Linked DNA regions of Homo sapiens: region 2 is linked to region 1. The links are contacts of gene promoters, found by promoter capture Hi-C in blood cells and fetal thymus (Javierre and others, 2016). All regions are on one chromosome and are shown on one strand. Each heading gives the region's core, a stretch centred on a gene start or on the middle of the fragment in contact. The rest is flanking DNA. Distances are from core to core; before and after follow the strand shown. Region 1 holds the start of PYCARD (PYD and CARD domain containing). Region 2 overlaps KRABD5 (KRAB domain containing 5).

Region 1 (2,700 bases), core at 3-2,502:
TGTGTATAAAAAGATCAGATTCAGGATGATTTGGTGGGATTGCCAGGGGCTGACCGGAGTGTTGCTGGGAAGGAGCCTCAGCTCCGCTCCAGGTCCTCCACCAGGTAGGACTGGGACTCCCTTAGGGCCTGGAGGAGCAAGTCCTTGCAGGTCCAGTTCCAGGCTGGTGTGAAACTGAAGAGCTTCCGCATCTTGCTTGGGTTGGTGGGCTCGGCCCGCACTGCCTGGTACTGCTCATCCGTCAGGACCTTCCCGTACAGAGCATCCAGCAGCCACTCAACGTTTGTGACCCTCGCGATAAGCGCAGCCCGGTGCTGGTCTATAAAGTGCAGGCCTGGGGGTGGGAGGAGAACATGAGCCAGCAGCCAGGGTGTGGGGCCTGTCCCTGCTGAACTTGAGTTCTTCAGGAATTCCTCTGCAAGCCTAGGGGCAGGGCTCCAGGGGGCGGCCACCAGGACCCCACATGCAGTGGGATGAGGGTAATATTGTCTCCCTTCCCCCGCAGGGTGTGGGTTGGTGGGTGGGGTGCGCAGGGTTGCCAAGCCGTGCCTGCCCTGCCCTGCCCTGCCCTGGTTGCGGGAGCACAGATGCAGGCTGTGCAGGAGTGCGGTGGGGCCGGGCTGGGTGTGGAGGCCTCACCTGGCTTGGCTGCCGACTGAGGAGGGGCCTGGATCCCAGCTGGCGCGGCTCCAGAGCCTGGAAGGATATGGGCCAAGTGATCCCCTTCCCTTCCCTTCCCGCCGTGGGGCCGGGGTCCCGTTGGTCGGTAGGCCAAGCGTGGGGAGCCTCCTTTCCGGTAGAGCAGCTTTGTTTAGGGGTAGGAGGAACAGAAAGCGGAAGAGCCCGCGGGGTAAGCGCTGGTGTGGGTGGAGGGGAAAGACGGGGTGGAGGGGAACGGGGGCGGCTCACCCTGGTGCGTGGCCGCCTGCAGCTGCCCGGCCATCTCCTGCAGGCCCATGTCGCGCAGCACGTTAGCGGTGAGCTCGGCGCCGTAGGTCTCCAGGTAGAAGCTGACCAGCTTGTCGGTGAGGTCCAAGGCGTCCATGGACAGCAGCGCGCCCCGCGGGATGCGCCCGTAGCCCTCGCGCAGCGGCACCGACAGCAGCTTCAGCTTGAACTTCTTGAGCTCCTCGGCGGTCAGGTTCTCCAGCGCATCCAGGATGGCGTCGCGCGCGCGCCCCATGGCTCCAGGATCCCCGGCCGCTGCCGCCGCTCACCCCGCTGCAGCCGCCGACCAGGAGGAAGTCGGCTCCGGGGCGGAACCTGGACTCCCCGCCTTCCTCCCACTCTGGTCTCCCGACTCCCCGCCCCGGTCCGTTGCCCTCCAGCAAAAGGCGCTTCCTTACTACACCCTTGGTCCCCTCCCACCCAGGCCTCTGGATTGGGGCCCCAGGCCGTCGGGGGACGCCAGGATCGCGCCCTCCAGCTGGCCTGCGAGGTGGGACCCGGGAGGGGGCCGCAGAGGGGCTCATGGGTGGCGCCTGCTTGTCTCTGGGCTTGCACCAGCGGGTACAGACCGGAAACCTGGGCTGGCTCTCACTGGGTTTATTGGAGCACCTAGGCTTAGAACCTCGGATTTCTAGAACCCCGAAACCTCCGCGGTTCCCCGAACCTTAGGATCCTCTCCCACATGTCGTAGAATCTTGGAATCATGACAGCTAGAAGCGTGAAGCTCCCTCAATTCCACATACTGGGGAAAAATGAGTTGTACAAAAGGGCAGAGAGTGCAAATCTCTCTGAGCTTCAGTTTCATTTTCTACGACATGGGGATAACCCTCCGGTGCTTATAAATATTCCAGCATAACATGGCCAACCCGATGGCTCCCGAAACCTTGCCAGATGCTTCCTAGGGGAGCCAGAATTTGATCCCAACACTGATTAAAAAAAAGAAAAAAGAAAGAGAGACAGCCTCCAGGAGATTAAAGACCATGAACTTGAAGCCATACAGTTCTTTGTTTGAATCCTGACTCTACTTCCCAAGGGGGATATTTGGAATCCTTTATTTTTCCCTCTCATCTGGGTTGTAACAATCACTGTTCCTTGTAGTCATACGACCCTGACATATTATACGTTTATATGCTTATTGGACATTCATCCCTCTCTAAAATGTGAGGCCTATGAGCATCGGAGACCTTAACTGTCTTATTCTTTGCTGAATTCCTAGCGTCAAGAATGTACCTGGAAATAGCTGTGTGTGGTGGAGGGCGCCTGTAATCCTAGCTACTAGGGCGGCTGAGGCATGAGAATCGCTTGAACCTCGGAGGCAGAGGCTACAGTGAGCCAAGATTGCACCACTGCACTCCAGCCTGGGTGACAGAGCTAGATTCCATCTGAAAAAAAAAAATGTATCTGGAACACATTAGGTGCTGAGTAAAGATTTGCTGAGTGAAGGAATGAATGAGGCTGTGATGCCTGCAGCATGTTGTATTCAAAAGCTTCCAGCATGGCTGGGTGCAGTGGCTCATCACGCATGTCATCTCAGTGCTTTGGGAGGCTGAGGCCGGAGGGTCACTTGAGCCCAGGAGGTTGAGGGTGCAGTGAGCTATGATTGTGCCACTGCACTCTGTGCCACTCGGCAACAGACACCTTGTCTCAAAAACAAACAAGACAACCAGGATGGGCCGGGCACGGTGACTCATGCCTGTAATCCCAGCATTTTGGGAGGGCGAGGTGGGTGATCAGGAGTTTGAGACCAGCCTG
Region 2 (2,700 bases), core at 134-2,633, 520 kb after region 1:
AGTGGTGCAATCTTGGCTCACTGCAACCTCCACTTCCTGGTTCAAGTGATTCTCCTGCCTCAGGTTCCTGAGTAGCTGGGATTACAGGCATGTGCCACCACGCCCAGCTAATTTTTTGTATTTTTAGTAGAGATGGGGTTTCATCATGTTGGCCAGGCTAGTCTCGAACTTAGGTGATCCACCCATCTCGGCATCCCAAAGTGCTGAGATTACAGGTATGAGCTACCGCGCCCGGCCTCGATGCCTTAGTTTTATACTTTATATTCCATATAGGCATAGTATCTACACTGGTTTTGTGGATTTTGTATCATTCTCTTTCCACAGAGTTAGAGAATACATAGAAAATATTATTGTGTTTAAAAGTATCTTATTGAATATTTCAGGTCACTCATATAAATCAGTCAGTTTTCTTAGCTCTCTTATTTCATCTTGGTTTGTCAAGTGATGAACTCTGCCCATGGCCACATGGTCAATGTGCTATTTATTTTTATTTCAGGGACTGTTGACATTCAGGGATGTGGCCATAGAATTCTCTCGGGAGGAGTGGGAACACCTGGACTCAGATCAGAAGCTTTTATATGGGGATGTGATGTTAGAGAACTACGGAAACCTGGTCTCTCTGGGTGAGGATAACTTGCCTTTGGAATATCTAATATCTAATAACTAAGGGTTTTATTTCTTTCCTTTGTAGAATGTCACTTGGGAGCTTATGCTTTATATGAATGAATTCAGATTCCTGTTTCCAGGAAAAAAAAATTGTGGGTTTGTTGTAGAAAAGACTTCCTAATGTTTGATCTTGACATTTGCCTTCTTTCTTGAGGTGATGTAGAAGCTTCACTCTAGTTTAGTAGTGATTCTAGAAAATTGAGTGACATAAACTATCATTGCCCACACTTTAAAATCTAATTCCTTCTCCTTATTTTTGATTTAGTCATACTTGGAAGTGAAGCTCAGGATTCCTGTGTTTAAAATGCTTCCTGAATATTCTAAAGAAGCTGACAGGAAACAGTATTTGGGGAAGTAATTTTCTAGGATCCTCTATAATGTTCCCTCTTTACTGAGTATCCTACTGAGCTGGCAATTAAAGAACTCCCAGCAAGAGTCATGTGACTTTTTCTAATAAAACAGGTCTCGCTGTCTCTAAGCCGGACCTGATCACCTTTTTGGAGCAAAGGAAAGAGCCCTGGAATGTGAAGAGTGCAGAGACAGTAGCCATCCAGCCAGGTAGGTGGGAGTGAATGAAGTAGATGACATGGGCGAGAGGTCCAGAGATTAAGAAAGAACCAGACCTTGAAGTGTGGATTGGGAAGTTCTCCAGTGGAAATGATTTTTGAGACACCTGGGTTTATTTCTTTCTCTTGCTGCTGTCACAGAGGGACATCTTCTGTCTCATATTCTTAAATTATCTGATTATTCTCCTTACCCTTCTGTGATCCACCATCAAATTCACAGTGACAGCCAAAGTGCTCCCCTTGGCCTGTGAGGGCCTGCGTGATCTGACTGTTCTTCCATTGATTTGGGGGCTCTGGGAAAGTCTGTGCATGTTTCTACCTCTATGTGAAACCACTTCTAAAGTTCTGGTTTTGCCTCATGTCAGAAGTGTGTGAGGCGAGTGATGGACAGTAGGATTTTTTTCAGAAGTCCCAGGAATTCTGTGGATAGATGTCACATATTTTCTGGTATATTAATTTCTAATCCTATGGTGGTTTCCCAGATGATCCTACAAAAATTGAGACTCAGTAATTCATCAGAGTGCAAAACATCTTCCTAAATATAAAAAAAAATCTGATTCTGTATTTCACTTCAACTTTTCATCTTTCCTAGCCTAAACTAAGATTAGAAATATAATCTCTGTATGCACAAATTCCACAGATTTAAAATCATTTAATATATTACTTACTATGTAGAATTCTTAACTAAATGAATGTCTATGGGAAGCTTACAACATTGTCCAGTATATAGTGAACTTTCAACTCTTACCTTATATATTCATAACATTTTATAATTTTGTCTGGTTAACTGTGAAGCTTAATGAGAATGTGTTCTTTATGTTCGTTTTCTTTCTTTTCCTTTTCTTTTTTCTTTTCCTTCCTTCTTTCATGTGGATTTTTTTCCCACACTTGTAAATTATATATATTTAAGAGGTGCATCCTGATCGTTTGATTTTATATATGTATACATTGTGTATTGATTAATACAAATAAATTAATTAACATATTAATCATCTCACATAGTTGCCAGGTTTTTTGTGGAGAGAACATTAAAGATCTACTGTGGGCCGGGCGCGGTGGCTCACGCCTGTAATCCCAGCACTTTGGGAGGCCGATGCAGGCGGATCATGAGGTCAGGAGATTGAGACCATCCTGGCTAACACGATGAAACCCCGTCTCTACTAAAAAATACAAAAAAAAAATTAGCCGGGCGTGGTGGCGGGTGCCTGTAGTCCCAGCTACTCTGGAGTCTGAGGCAGGAGAATGGTGTGAACCTGGGAGGCGGAGCTTGCAGTGAGCCGAGATCGCGCCACTGCACTCCAGCCTGGGTGACAGAGAGCAAGACTCCGTCTCAAAAAAAAAAGAAAAAAAAAAAAGATCTACTGTGTTAGCAAATCTCAAGTATATATGAGTATTGTAAACTATATTCATAATGCTTTACATTAGATCCCCAGAATTTATCTTTTAAATGAAAGTTTGTACTCTTTGA

What was found. The method cuts DNA at HindIII sites, captures the fragments that hold promoters and counts their contacts. A CHiCAGO score of 5 or more calls a contact.
Region 2: a fragment that was not itself captured here is called in contact with the fragment with the promoter of PYCARD in region 1 in 3 of 17 cell types (erythroblasts, activated CD4 T cells and fetal thymus); the score reaches 7.3 in erythroblasts.

Annotation. Positions count from the first base shown.
Region 1 is chr16:31,201,508-31,204,207 of GRCh38, forward strand. It overlaps PYCARD (PYD and CARD domain containing), which reads right to left and starts at 1,253. Exons shown (of 3, transcript NM_013258.5): 1 at 910-1,253; 2 at 640-696; 3 at 1-334. The coding sequence starts at 1,183. The coding sequence ends at 78. PYCARD-AS1 (PYCARD antisense RNA 1) reads left to right here and starts at 378. Exons shown (of 2, transcript NR_102400.1): 1 at 378-479; 2 at 953-1,945. RefSeq lists enhancers at 84-714, 904-1,133 and a silencer at 1,244-1,603. The HindIII fragment of the contact is 5,508 bases long and covers 1-2,433 here.
Region 2 is chr16:31,722,130-31,724,829 of GRCh38, forward strand. KRABD5 (KRAB domain containing 5) reads left to right here. Exons shown (of 5, transcript NM_001130913.2): 2 at 497-623; 3 at 1,129-1,224. Among named protein-coding and RNA genes, the nearest start is that of KRABD5, 10 kb to the left of the region's middle. The HindIII fragment of the contact is 1,106 bases long and covers 831-1,936 here.